Regions from separate parts of the Homo sapiens genome. Here region 1 is linked to region 2. The links are contacts of gene promoters, found by promoter capture Hi-C in human tissues and cell types (Jung and others, 2019). All regions are on one chromosome and are shown on one strand. The core of a region is centred on a gene start or on the middle of the fragment in contact, and the rest is flanking DNA. Distances in the headings are between cores, read along the strand shown. Region 1 holds the start of SULT2A1 (sulfotransferase family 2A member 1). Region 2 holds the start of TPRX1 (tetrapeptide repeat homeobox 1).

Evidence for each region. Contacts are between HindIII fragments. The study calls those that stand out against the background at their distance.
Region 1: the fragment with the promoter of SULT2A1 here is called in contact with the fragment with the promoter of TPRX1 in region 2 in 14 of the 25 tissues and cell types used here (IMR-90 fibroblasts, aorta, heart left ventricle and 11 more).

The regions. Positions count from the first base shown.
Region 1 is chr19:47,883,371-47,891,017 of GRCh38, forward strand. SULT2A1 (sulfotransferase family 2A member 1) reads right to left here and starts at 2,945. Exons shown (of 6, transcript NM_003167.4): 1 at 2,752-2,945; 2 at 207-415. The coding sequence starts at 2,887. The HindIII fragment of the contact is 17,642 bases long and covers 1-7,207 here.
Region 2 is chr19:47,799,333-47,806,098 of GRCh38, forward strand. It overlaps TPRX1 (tetrapeptide repeat homeobox 1), which reads right to left and starts at 5,219. Exons shown (of 3, transcript NM_001397346.1): 1 at 5,183-5,219; 2 at 4,172-4,341; 3 at 1,900-3,648. The coding sequence starts at 5,207. The coding sequence ends at 2,443. The HindIII fragment of the contact is 58,136 bases long and covers 1-6,766 here.

The DNA of each region.
Region 1 (7,647 bases), core at 1,695-4,194, 82 kb after region 2:
GGTAATCTGTGGAATGGTCTATATCCTTGAACTCAAGGACAGTTCTGGGAGCAGCCACATAGGTGTCACCTAATACGGAATCTCAGGTCTCAACAACACAGACCTGTTGAAGGAGAATGCATTTCAGCAAGATCTCCAGATGACTTATAGGCATATCAGTGTTTGAAAGGCACTGATCAAACACGTCTTAACCATTATGCACTGACCTTGGCCTTGGAACTGAAGAAAGACTTGGGGAATAACTGGATGGGGAGGTGGGAGGAGAATAAACGTGGACTCTCCGTTTCACTGAGTGCTGTATACCCAATCTCACTCTCTACCCAGGGTGATCGCTCCCAGATGGGCACAGATTGGATCCACTTGGCATCCCCCTTGGAGTGCATCAGGCAGAGAATCTCAGCCAACCAGTTTGTTCCTGGAAAAAGAAGGAAAAAAATATATAAAATGTACCATCTCAGCCGGACATGGTGGCTCACGCCTGTAATCCCAGCACTTTGGGAGGCTGAGGCAAGTGATCATGAGGTCAGGGGTTCCAGAATAGCCTGGCCAAGATGGTGAAACCCCGTCTCTACTAAAAATACAAAAATTAGCCAGGTATGGTGGCGGGCGCCTAAAATCCCAGCTACTTGGGAGGCTGAGGCAGAGAATTGCTTGAACCTGGGAGGCGGAGGTTGCGGTGAGCCGAGATCGTGCCATGGCACTCCAGCCTGGGCAACAGAGTGAGACTCAGTCTCAAAAAAAAAAACAAAAACAAAAACAAAAAAAAGTACCATCTCAACCTTAATTTTTTTATTATTTATTTATTTATTTATTTATTTTGAGACAGAGTCTTGCTCTGTCACCCAGGCTGGAGTGCAATGGCACGATCTCAGTTCACTGCAAGCTGTGCATCCCGGGTTCATGCCATTCTCCTGCCTCAGCCTCCCAAGTAGCTGGGACTACAGGCGCCCACCACCACGTCTGGCTAATTTTTTTTTTAATATATTTTTAGTAGAGATGGGGTTTCACCATGTTAGCCAGGATGGTCTCGATCTCCTGACCTCATGATCTGCCTGCCTCGGCCTCCCCAAGTGCTGGGATTACAGGCGTGAGCCACTGCGCCTGGCTTTTTTTTTTTTTTTTTTTAGCGATGAGGTCTCCCTCTGTAGCCCAGGCTAGAGTGCAGTGGTGCAATTATAGCCCACTGCAGCCTTGAACTCGGGCTCAAGTGATCCTTGTACTTCGGCCTCCTGCTTCAGCCTCGCAAGTATCTGAGACCTCAGGCATGTGCCATCGCGCTGGGCTAATTTTTTGAAAAAATTTTATTGTAGAGATCAGGCCTTGCTATGTTGCCCAGGCTGGTCTTGAACGCTTGACCTCAAGCAATCTGCCTATCTTGCCCTCCCAAAGCACTGGGACTGTAGGCGTGAGCCACTGCAGCCAGCTCTCAACCACTTTTTTTTTTTTTTTTTTTTTTTTTTGAGACAGAGTCTTGCTCTGTCACCCAGGCTGGAGTGCAGTGGCATGATCTTGGCTCACTGCCACCTCCATCTCCTGGGTTCAAGTGATTCTCTTGGTCAGCCTCCCGAGTAGCTGGAACTACAGACGTGCGCCACAGCGCCTGGCTAATTTTTTATTTTTAGTAGAGACGGGGTTTTGCCATGTTGGCCAGGCTGGTGTCGAACTCCTGACCTCAGGCAATCCACCTGCCTTGACCTCCCAAAGTGCTGGGATTACAGGTATGAGCCACCATGCCCAGCCTGTCAACCACTTTTAAGCCTACGGTTTCGTAGTGTTAAGTGTTAAGTATATTCCCAGTGCTGCTCAACCAATCTCCAGAGGATTTTTGTGTTGCAAAACCGAAACTCTATGCAGAGCCAGCACCGACTCCCCATTTACCCTTCTCTTCAGCCCCTGGCAGCCGCCAGTGTACTTTCTGTTTCTATGGACTTGATGACTCCAGGTACCTTATGTAAGTGGAATCACACACTATTTGTATTTTTGTGACTGGCTTATTTCATTTAGCATAATGTCCTTGATGTTTATCTCTGTTGTATCATGCATCAGAATTTTCTTCCTTCTCAAGGATGAATAACATTCCATTATAGCTATATACCACATTTTGTTTATTCACTCACCTGTCAGTGGATATCTGGGTTGCTTCCATCTTTTGGCTATTTGCTGAAATCCCTCTTATTATGTTCCCATTGCTCTTGGCCTCTCAGGGCCATGCCACTTCCAATGTCTTCAGCCTCAATCCTCACCGCATCCGCAGTGCTCTTACCGCCCTCCACCCACAGCCCCACTCCCAGAGACATATGATCCTCATCTTTCAGCCCCTTGAGATTGCCTGGCTCTTTTGTGGTTCCTGGCCATTGCCCTGATGATTCTCCTATCTGAAAATAGCCCTCCCCCCAAGTAATTTCATACTCATTCTTTGCATTTCCATTTAAATGCTATTTCTTCTTTCAGGACATCATTGGTCATCCTCAGCCATCCTCCCTCCCACTGCCACCAAACAAACACCTGAATTTGCCTTGGGATTCACTCCTGTGGATTCTCCTAATACCTTAGATTACCCCTCTGAACACTCATCCTACTGTGTAATTTCCTGACTAAATCCTTTTCTCTGATTGTCAATGGTATTAGGCATTCCTCTCTTCCCCTTAAAGCATTGTACACTGTCTGACATAAAGGAAGAACTCCAATCATGCACTGAATGGACAGGAACACAACCACAGCCTTTCTCAGTTCACGATTCTGCCTCCTTACCTGATTTGGGGTAAGTCAATATTATTACATCTTCATCCCTTATCACGAACTCATCACGTACTTTTCTTAAGGTTTCGGATCTGAAACCCATAGTAGGGAAAGCTATGCCTTCAAACCATAAGAAATCGTCCGACATGATGATGACCTCTTCCTGCGTGGTGTGAGGGTTTCAACTGTAGCCACCGCTGGAGGCTGTGGCAGCTACAGGCAGATCAGCTTTTACAGCAAGGATAAAACGATCTTTAACCTTGTCCCAGCATGTCACATGTTTGTTGTAAAGTTTACTTGCTGATAAAGAGAGGTATAATGTGACCCATACTCAAAAGATTGAAGATGTTGAGCAATCATGAACTTATCTAGAGACCATTTTAGGGGTCATCTGAGCTTGCGTTCCTGAGAGTGAACTGCAAGATCGAATAACAAACACGAGGACAAATATTTTTTTTGATAATATGGGTGAATTTATTTCTTAAGGTTTGAGTGCAAACTTAAAAACAAGAACAAAGCTTTTCATCAAGCATAAACACAAAATCTAAATAATCCTGCAATCGTGCATTTTAACAGAAAGTACAAATATGAATACATTATAATTTGTAACTGCATTTAAAAATTAAAATATGTCTCTCCAAATCCAAAAGACCACACAGTCTTTATCTGTTCTCATCTTGTTACCTTAGAAACATTTGTCATATGCTCTCAGGAAAATATAGGCAAGAATTACTAATCAGTTATTCACGATCAAAGAAACATTATTCTCCCTGAGACTTTTTGAATCATTTATCTGTATTTCTGAAGTATCACACAATTATACCTCCACTCTAGAGAAAAAAAGAGTAAGTACAAATATTAGCAGTGTATATATTGTAGTAAATTTTTAAAGTACAACTTTAGTTGATGGCTGACGTGTATGTAATAATTGTGAACAATTTAAACGGTATAAAAATGTGAGATGAAAATCTTTAGACTCAAATACTTGAAAAGTCACTATGAATATGGAAAGATTTGTTTGCATAAACATGTATGTTTTTAGATGGAAAATCAAGAGGTAGTGGCATCTCCCTGTTTCCTTAATAATATTTGGATTTTCACAAAGAATTGGCAGCACCCAACCTTAAGTGTTAATTATGTGTTTGTTTGTTTTTTTTTTTTTTTTGAGATGGAGTCTCACTCTGTCGTCCAGGCTGGAGTGTAGTGGCGCGATCTCGGCTTGCTGCAAGCTCTGCCTACTGGGTTCATGCCATTCTCCTGCCTCAGCCTCCAGAGTAGCTGGGACTACAGGTGCCCGCCACCACGCCCAGCTAATTTTTTGTATTTTTAGTAGAGACGGGGTTTCACCGTGTTAGCCAGGATGGTTTCAATCTCCTGACCTTGTGATCCGCCACGCCCAGCCTAATTATGTGTTTCTAAAGGACCTATACAACAGATCAGTTGGCAGTGTTCTAGCTTTAGGGAGATGGGGGTGGATTGGGGGTGCAAATATCTGAGATAAGATAATGCATGCACTCACACATTTAAAATCACCATTCTAAATGGGAAAAAAAAATCACATATTGGGAAAGTCCAAGAAACTCATTCTTAAGGGATAAACAGCAGGGCAGGAGCAAAAGCTGAATAGAAGTCTACTTGATAATAATGTTTTTTCACTCTTCAAAGGCAAGTTGGGAAGAATGAGAATACTCACATACACATAACTTCAGGGAAAACGTGCCTAGAATTTTACCTTGCAAAACACTGAACAGAAATCTTTACAAAAACCTTCATTCTTGGTCTGGGCACGGTGTGGTGGCTCACGCCTGTAATCCCAGCACTTTGGGAGGCCGAGGCGGGCGGATCACGAGGTCAGGAGATCGAGACCATCCTGGCTAACACGGTGAAACCCCGTCTCTACTAAAAATACAAAAAATTAGCCGGGCGTGGTGGCGGGTGCCTGTAGTCCCAGCTACTCAGGAGGCTGAGGCAGGAGAATGGCATGAACCCGGGAGGCGGAGCTTGCAGTGAGCCGAGATCTCGCCACTGCACTCCAGCCTGGGCGACAGAGCGAGACTCCGTCTCAAAAAAAAAAAAAAAAAAAAGGAAAGAAAAAAAGCCTTCATTCTTGTTTATAATACTTGATTTTTCCCTTATTACCACCCTGTACATCACATTTAAGTATTTTCTTTATAAATATTTTAGAGCAAAAAGAATTTATTTTGTTGCAATGGTGGCCCACATCTGTACAAAACAACCTAAACAAGATATATATGTATATATATATGCATATATATATGCGCATATATATATGCATATATATAAAATGATTAAGAAAAAGTGCAAAGAATAACAGTATTAAGAATTTTTGCATTTTATAGTAACTGTGGTTCAAGCGTGAATATCTATCAGCGATATATAATCCCAGGTTTTACTTTTTAATTTTATTTATTTATTTATTGTTTTGAGATGGACTCTTGCTCTTGTCACCCAGGTTAGAGTGCAATGGCATGATCTCGGGCTCACTGCAACCTCCGCCTGCTGGGTCCAAGCGATTCTCTTGCCTCAGCCTCCTGAGTAGCTGGGATTACAGGCGCCCACCACCACGCCTGGCTAATTTTTGTACTTTTAGTAGACATGGGGTTTCACCATGTTGGCCAGGCTGGTCTCAAACTCCTGACCTCGTGATCCACCCGCCTCGGCCTCCAAAAGTGCTGGGATTACAGGTGTGAGCTACTGCGCCCGGCCAATCCCAGGATTTAATTAAAGATTCAAAAACAAACCACACTCCAAATTACTGCACAAACATCGGTCCCTTATCAAGCAAGTCTGCCCTTCTCCTGAATCTAGTATTTCCAGTTTCTAAACTCTTCCCAAACAGGAAAAAAATATTTTTAATACGCCTCATTTTTTAGGGCACTTTTAGACTTACAGAAAAATTGCAAAGAGAGTACAGAGAGTTCCCATAGTCCATACTTAATTTGGATTTCCTTAGTTTTTATCTCATGCTCGTGTTTTTTTTTTTTTTTTTTGACAGAGTTCTCTCTTTGTTGCCCAGGCTGAAGTGCAGTGGCATGATCCTGGCTCACTGTCTCATGCCCTTTTTTTGCCCCAAAATCCCATCCTGTATAGTACATGACATACACTCATCCTGTCTCCTTGGGCTCCTCTTGGCTGTGACAGTTGTTGCTCAGACTTTCCTCATTTTTTTTTTTTTTGAGATGGAGTCTTGCTCTGCTGCCCAGGCTGGAGTGCAGTGGCACAATCTTGGCTCACTGCAGCCTCTGCCTCCCCAGTTCAAGTGATTCTCCTGCCTCAGCCTCACGAGTAGCTGGGATTACAGGCACGCGCCACTACACCCGGCTAATTTTTGCATTTTTAGTAGAAACGGGGTTTCACCATATTGGCCAGGCTGGTCTCGAACTCCTGACCTCAGGTGATCCGCCCACTTTGGCCTCCCAAAGTACTGGGATTACAGGTGCGAACCACTGCGCCTGGCCGACTTTCCTCATTTTTGATGACCTTGATGGTTTTGAAGAACACTGGTGAGGCATTTTGTACAATGTTCCTCCTTTGGGATTTATTGCAGGTTTTCTCATCCAACAAATGAGTTCATGGGTTTTGGAGAGGAAGGTCACAGAGGTAAAATACCATGATCATCACACCATATCAAGGGGACTTATTAGCAACATGACCTGGCACTAATGATGTTGACCTTGGTCACCAGAGGTCACTTGACTTTTCTCCCTCTTCCCTTTCTATGTGGCCATATTTTAAACATAAACTCTAGGCCTGAATATATTAGTGAGATAACATTATATGAACCCCAAATGAGGGACAGTCTGCAAAATGACGGGCCTGTACTTTTTAAATTGTGAAAAAATTTTTTTTTTTTGAAACGGAGTCTCGTGCTCAGTTGCCCAGGCTGGAGTGCAGTGGCACGATCTCAGCTCGCTGCAAGCTCTATACCTCCTGGGTTCACGCCATTCTCCTGCCTCAGCCTCCCGAGTACCTGAGACTACAGGTGCCAGCCACCATGCCCGGCTAATTTTGTGTATTTTTTTAGTAGAGACGGGGTTTCACCGTGTTAGCCAGGATGGTCTCGATCTCCTGACCTCGTGATCCGCCCTCCTCGGCCTCCCGAAGTACTGGGATTACAGGCATGCGCCACTGCGCCTGGCCTATTATTTATTTTATTTTATTTTGAGATGGAGTCTCACTCTGTTGCCCAGGCTGGAGTGCAGTGGTGCAATCTCAGCTCACTGCAACTTCCGCCTCTCCAGTTCAAGTGAACCTCTTGCCTCAGCCTCCTGAGCAGCTGGGATTACAAAGGTGTGCCACCATGCCCAGCTAAGTTTTGTACTTTTAGTAGAGATGGGGTTTCACCATGTTGGCCAGGCAGGTCTTGAACTCCTGATCTCAGGTGATCCACCTGCCTTGACCTCCCAAAGAATTACAGGCATGAGCCGCCACGCCTGGCCATACTTATATCTTTTTTAAAAAGACAAAGGATATTATTATTTGACAGAAAAGGGAAATAAAAGGACCATTAAACCATACAATTGATTATTAATCATACCTGTAATCAGGGAAATACAAATCAAAATCACAGTAATGCATGTAGGTTGTCACTTCTTATACGTTAGAAGAAAAAAATGGGATGATACTACCTGTTGGTCAGGCCGTTCGAATTTGGGGGATCTGTTCATTTGCATGGTGGTATTGGAGGAGAGTTTCAGAAAGTAACTGGAGTTGAAACTTGCAGAGATATATGTCCTTGGAGACATTTTCATACATGGACAAGGAAACTCGAAAAAAAAATGTGTATTTCAACATTGCAACCGTGAAAAATGGGAAACCAGTTGAATTTGGGGATGAATGATTAATTTAAAACACAGGATAAGTTATAGAATATGTGGAAGATGACAC
Region 2 (6,766 bases), core at 3,969-6,468:
TAATCCCAGCAATTTGGGAGGCCAAGGTGGGAGGATCACTTGAACCAGGAATTCAAGACCAGCCTGGGCAACATGGTGAGACCTTGTTTCTGCAAAAAGTAAAAGGAAATTAGCCAGGCATGGTGGTGTGTGCCTGTGGTCCCAGCTACTCAGAAGGCTGAGGTGGGAGGATCAGTTGAGCCTGGGAGGTTGAGGTTGTAGTGAGCTGTGATTGTGTCACTGCACTCTAGCCTGGGCAACAGAGTAAGATACTGTCTCAAAAAAAAAAAAAAAAAAAAAAAAAAGCCAGGTGTGGTGACACATACCTGTAATCCCAGCACTTTGGGAGACTGAGGCTAGCGGATCAATGAGGCCAGGAGTTCAAGACCAACGTAGCCAACATGGCTAAACCCTGTCTCTACTAAAAATACAAAAAATTAGCTGGGCATGGTGGTGCACGCCTGTAAAACCAGCTACTCAGGATGCTGAGGCATGAGAATCACTTGAACCTGGGAGGCAGTGGTTGCAGTGAGCTGAGATGATGCCATTGCACTCCAGCCTGGGCAACAGAGTGAAACTGTCTCCAAAAAAAAAAACAAAAAATAAAATACAAAAAAGTTTGTAGATACAGACTCATACATTAATGAACCCTTGATTTATGACAAAATACAAAATAAATTGCAAGCTTCTCAATAAATTGACAATTAGAAATCCATGAGAAAAGAAAAATCCTTACCTCACACCATAAACAGTCAATTATACATGTATTAAAGACCTAAATATGAAAGGTAAAACTATAAAAATTTAGAGAAAAAAATGGAATACCTTCATCATCATGTGATAATGCAAGATTTCTTTTTTTCCTGCTGTTTACCTGATCTTGGGGAAAGTTTTTTTTTTTTTTTTTTGGAGATGGAGTCTCACTCTGTCACCCAGGCTGGAGTGCAGTGGCACGATCTCGGCTCACCGCAACCTCCGCCTCCTGGGTTCAAGCGATTCTTCTGCCTCAGCCTCCTGAGTAGCTGGGATTACAGGCATGTGCCATCACACCCGGCTAATTTTTGTACTTTTAGTAGAGGTGGGGTTTCACCATGTTGGCCAGGCTGGTCTCAAACTCCTGGCCTCAGGTGATCCACCCTCCTCGGCCTCCCAAAGTGCTGGGATTACAGGCGTGAGCCACTGTGCCCGGCCTGGAGAAAGACATTTTAGACAAGCTATTAAAAAAAAAAAAAAGCATTACTCTTAGAAGGCAAAAGTGAGAAAATGTAGCAATTTTCGAAGCAGTAAGCTGGACACCTCAGACTGGTGCCACCTGTGGGCTTTGTCTCCAATTAGTAACAATTAGTAACAGAGGACTTTTAGAAACACCAGCTTTTAGAAGTTTTTCTGTCAATTTGAAAATACAGATATATTGAGATATTTTGTAAAAGTCATTTTATTTTATTTGATTATTTTATATTTTTTAGACAAGGTCTCAGTCTGTACTCCAGGCTGGAGTACAGTGATACGATCTCAGCTCACTGCAACATCCACCTCCTAGGTTCAAGTGATTCTCCTGCTTTAGCCTCCCAAGTAGCTGGGACTACAGGCACCTGCCAGCATGCCCGGCTAATTTTTGTATTATTATTATTTTTTTAGTGAAGATGGGGTTTCACCATGTTGGCCAGGCTGGTCTCAAACTCTTAACTTCAAGTGATCCACCTGTTTTGGCCTCCCAAAGTGTTGGGATTACAGGCATGAGCCACCGTGCCTGGCCCATTTTAATTTTTATTAATAACTTCATTGTGTTTTACAACATTATCAGTCTGCCACTGATGGAAATGAAAAATAAAACAAGACAAAACTGGTCCAAAACAATAGGTAATTTGAAAAGCAGTGAAATAGACAACATTAAAATCAAGAAATACTAATGAAACAAAATGCAAATAGGAAAGGTGTCTGCAGAACTTTAATTGCCAAGAGAATATAAGAATACATTCAAATAAATGAAGGAAAAGGGGTAAACAAATACACATTATGAAGATATCTAAGGTTCAATTAACATGTGAGGGTTTAACTTCTCAATCATCAGGGAAATGGATATTACAACCACAACAAAACCACAAGTCATTGGATCGACAAACATTAAAAAGTCTCACAATCCTAAGTGTTGGGGAAGATGCTGACCATCAGAAGCCCTGGGAAAAGCCCTTTAGAAAGCTCTCGAGCAGCATCCACTAATGCCAGATATCCCAGTGAGCAGCGACTCCAATCCCAGCAGAGAAACGCTCAGGCTCAATTCAAATGACAGGCAGGCACATTCACAGCAGAGCCACCTGTGATAGCTGCACAGTGAAGACAGCAAATGTCCACCTGCAGCAGGGTGGGTAAAGGGTGATGCATTCACTGCAGAAAGTCACCAGCAGTGTAGATCAGCCACTCCAGGCCCTCTGGGATCTGAAGAACTTTGCAGGCACAGGCCCCCTATAAATCCAGTAATAACCTGGGGCCTGAGTGATTTTCATTCACAGAGCCACCCTCCTCTTGGGGCTGAGACCCTGAGTGTTTTTTGCCCATAGAGTCATCCCCTTCTTGGTACTGAGAGGTCATGGTGGAGACTGAGGATCCCTCCAAGGGGTCTAGGGGTAGGAGCAGCTCTGTGAAGTGAGGGAATAACTGGGTGTCTGGCAAGAAGTCGGAGGCATCGGGGCTCTGAGGCCATAAGGGGGCTGGGGCTGGGAGTGATCCTGGGCCTGGGATTGGAGCTGGGACTGAGCCTGAGCCTGGGCCTGAGCCTGGGCCTAAAATCGGGGCTAGGCCTGGAAGTGAGCCAGGGCTTCGCATCCGGCCAGGACTTAAGATGGGACCTGGGCCTTGGAGTCTGCCTGGGCCTGGGATCTGGGCTGGGCTGGGAATCGGGCCTATAATTGGGCCTGGGCCTGAGATTGGGCCTGGGATTGGGCCTGGGATCAGGCCTGGGTTCGGGCCTGAGATTGGGCCTGGGATCGGGCCTGGGTTCGGGCCTGAGATTGGGCCTGGGATTGGGCCTGGGATCGGGCCTGGGTTTGGGCCTGAGATTGGGCCTGAGATTGGGCCTGGGATCGGGCCTGGGATCGGGACTGAGATTGGGCCTGGGATCGGGCCTGAGATTGGGCCTGGGATCGGGCCTGGGTTTGGGCCTGGGATCGGGCCTGGGTTTGGGCCTGAGAATGGGCCTGAGATTGGGCCTGGGATCGGGGCTGGGCCTGAAATTGGGCCTGGGATTGGGCCACGGAATGGGCCTGGGATCTGGACTGGGCCTGAAATTGGGCCTGGGATTGGGGCTGGGATCGGGCTTGGGATCTGAGCTGGGCCTGGAATTGGGCCTGGAATTGAGCCAGGGAGTGGGCCTGGGATCTGGGCTGGGCCTGGGATTGGGGCAGGGATCGGGCCAGGGCCTGGACTCAGGGCAGCTGGGATGCCCTTCTGGGCTCTGCACCCAGGGCCACCCCAGGCCTGGTGGAGGCTGCAGATCGTGGGTTCCGCCGCTGGAAGGATTCCCGAGGGGCCCCGCTGAGGTGCGGAGGCAGAGGCTGCAGGGACTAGGGGCGCAGCGCGGGCTCCTCGGCCTCTCTGCCCAGGGACGCGCTGGGGCTGCTGCTGGAGCCGCCGCTCCCGAGCTAGTTTGGCGCGGCGATTCTTGAACCACACCTGGGGGGCAGAGGGGACAGGGAGAAGGTGTGAAGGAGGGGCTCGCGCGGCCCAGTGAGCCTTTTGGGGTCGGGGCCAGCCTGAAGCCTCTCCCTGTGCTCAACAGCCCCCCATCCCCCACCCCACCAAAAGAGGGCCCCGGCTCCAAGGCCTGGAGAATGGAGGGAAGAGGGAGGGAAAAGTAGGGGGAGGAGGGTGGGGTGGGATGGGAGGAGCGGGGTCTGCCGCCCAGGTGCCCGGGGGGCCAGGGAGGGTTCGAGGGGAGGGACCGCGGGTTCTCACGGGTGCCTGAGGTCCGGGCACCGGGAGACCCCGTGGGGGACAGCCTGGGCCGATCATGTGGGCGAGTTTGGGCTAGCATAGAGTTGGAACAGGACTCAGGATGCAGCCCTGGTCTACACTGGCGGGACCCCTTGCGTGGCAGGGCGGGAGGTGGTCGGGCGGGCCAGGCCCCGGTGAGTGACAGCGGTGGGGAGGCTCCTTGGGGTGACTGGGGCGGGCAGGGTGGGGGTGGGGGTCAGACCTGCAGCTGTTGCTCCCTGAGGCTGAGCATCTCCGCCAGATTCAGTCGCTGGTCGTAGTTCGGGTACTGGTCCTTCTGAAAGTAAAATTCTAGCACTTTCTGCTGGCTTTCAGTGTAGACCGTGCGCTCCTGCCGCTGTCTCCTTGGAGGGTCCAGGGCCAGGGGAGGGCCTGGGGGTGGGAGGGAAACAGGTCACAGAAACCCCCAGGCAGCCCCCAGCCCCCCTAGGGACCCCGTCCCCTGCACCAGGCCAGGAGCCCAGGCAGTGTGGGCTGGGGCGGCACCGCGGATAGCAGCCTGGTATCCAGACCAGACCTTGCACCTCTCTGGGCCTCAGGGTCCACATCTAGGAAATAGGCGCGATAACAGCTCCTGGGAAGGCAGGCAGCGTAGGCGCCTCACCTCGGAGCAGACGGGGCTGCCTCAGGCCTGCTCAACCCTCCCCAGCTGCCCCGTCCCCTCCCATCCAAGGGTTATAGGGACCCTGACACTTGCAGGGGAGCCGCCACCTGCCCAGTCCTCTGCTCCACTCAACTGCATGGTTTAATTTCTTTCCTTCTTTCTTTTTCTTGGAGGGGATCTCGCTCTGTCACCCAGGCTGGAGTGCAGTGATGTGATCACGGCTCAAGTCAGCCTCCACTTCCTGGGCTCAAGGAACCCCCCGCCTTAGTCTCCCGAGTAGCTGGGACCACAGGTGTGCACCACGACCCCTGGGTAATTTTTGTATTTTTGCTAAAGACGGGTCTCCACTATGTTGGCTCGGCTGGTTTCAGAGTCCCGGGCTCAAGTGATCCTCCCACCTTGGCTTCCCAAAGAGCTGGGATCACAGGCGTGAGACGCTACACCCAGCTGCATGATTTTTCATTTCCCAGACACCACTAAGTTCTCCCCCGTCTGCAGGACAGGAAGCCGCCCGCACAGGCCCAGCCCTTCTCTGGCTGCCCAGATTTGCACTCTGCAGCCTCAGCCACAGGATCAGCCCAGACCCCTCACACCTCTGTCCCCGCTCACCTTGGAGATGACCAGGGTCTTGCATCCTGAGTCCTGATCTGTTCCCAAACACAAGTGTGTACTGACAAGGGCTTGGCTCTTAAATCACTTCTCTGCTGTGCCCACCCTGGCCCACCCTGCCGGGACCCTCCCTTTCCCACCCTGCCCTGCAGTCCCGCCCCCTGGAGGAGTTGAATGATGGATTAATCCTTCATCACTGATCAGGTACTGCCTGCTGAGCTGTGCTAGGAGCTGGAGAACCTCAGTGGACAACACAGCCTTGGTTTCACCCTCATGGGCCCTAGCCCAGGTGAGGTGGCATTCCATGCGGGTTTGGTTGGGGGAGTCAACATCGTGACCTGTGGTTGGGGTCCCCATCTCAGGAGAGGCACCGCCAGCCAGCCCCCAGGAGTCATCCTTGTTCCTTCCCAGGGCTGGGGCCCCGAGTGACCAATGCCGGTGAGTCTACCCACTCCTCCTGGCTCCTGGGCTGCCTGCCTTGTCCAGCCACTATCCCTCCTTCCTGGATGACCTTGCAACCTCCTCTTTGGTACCTCAAGGCCACTCTGGCCCCTACTATCCATTCCAAAAATTGCTCCCTAGGTGCCTATAGGTGTAAGCAGAGCTTAGTACACATTGGCCCTGCTGATAATGGTTTGGTTTCTGTAGTGGATTTGCCTATGGGGTGAAGTTCTGATAGGCATTCACATAGACCTCTGTTGGTTTCTCCTGGAGAGTAAATGACCTCAGTGCTGGTTTATTCCAGTTTATATACGGGGCTCGTGTGCTGGGTTCACATGAGCCCAGCCTCTCCAAGCTGCATAGACCTGTATCAGGAGGGGGCACAGGTCTGATGGACGTGCCCATGGACCGCTGCTGGTCTGCCCTTGTGAGTGAATGAACCTACTGCTGATGATACAGGGGACCCATGACCTTGGTCTACAGAGATCGGATCCCTCAGAGATGCGTCTTCTCTGTCAGACACCTGGCTGTCCTCATTTCCCCATGGCAGGACCCACGTGGGTTCAGGGATTAGAGAGATTGACAAGGCTCATGGTGCAGGGAACTAGAAATGACTCATGCAATCAATTTCAAAATTCAATAAAACGTAGACATTGTTACCACGGGCCTCGCTCATTGTTTTCACCTGCTACTTAGAGTTCTGCTGTAGAAAGCAGCATCCCCAGCAATGATTCCTCATCGCACACATTGTCCGGCTTCATCTACAGGACATGCTGGGAACACAGTAGTGACCACAGAGATTTTGCACCATGGCTATTTATTTGGTCAATAAAGACATAAACAGATGAACAAGCTCACTGGTACTATTTTGTGAAAATAGACATTTAAATATAAGCAAGTTCACGGCAGCATGATTCACTATCGCCCAAAAGGAGAAAATGCTGAAAACATCGATCCACTGATGCATGGATAAATAAAATGCTGCATGGCCAGGCGCGGTGGCTCACGCCTGTAATCCCAGCACTTTGGGAGGCTGAGGCAGGCAGATCACCTGAGGTCAGGAGTTTAAGACCAGCCTGGCCAACATGGCGAAACCCTGTCTACTAAAAATACAAAAATTAGCTGGGCGTGGTGGCCAGCACC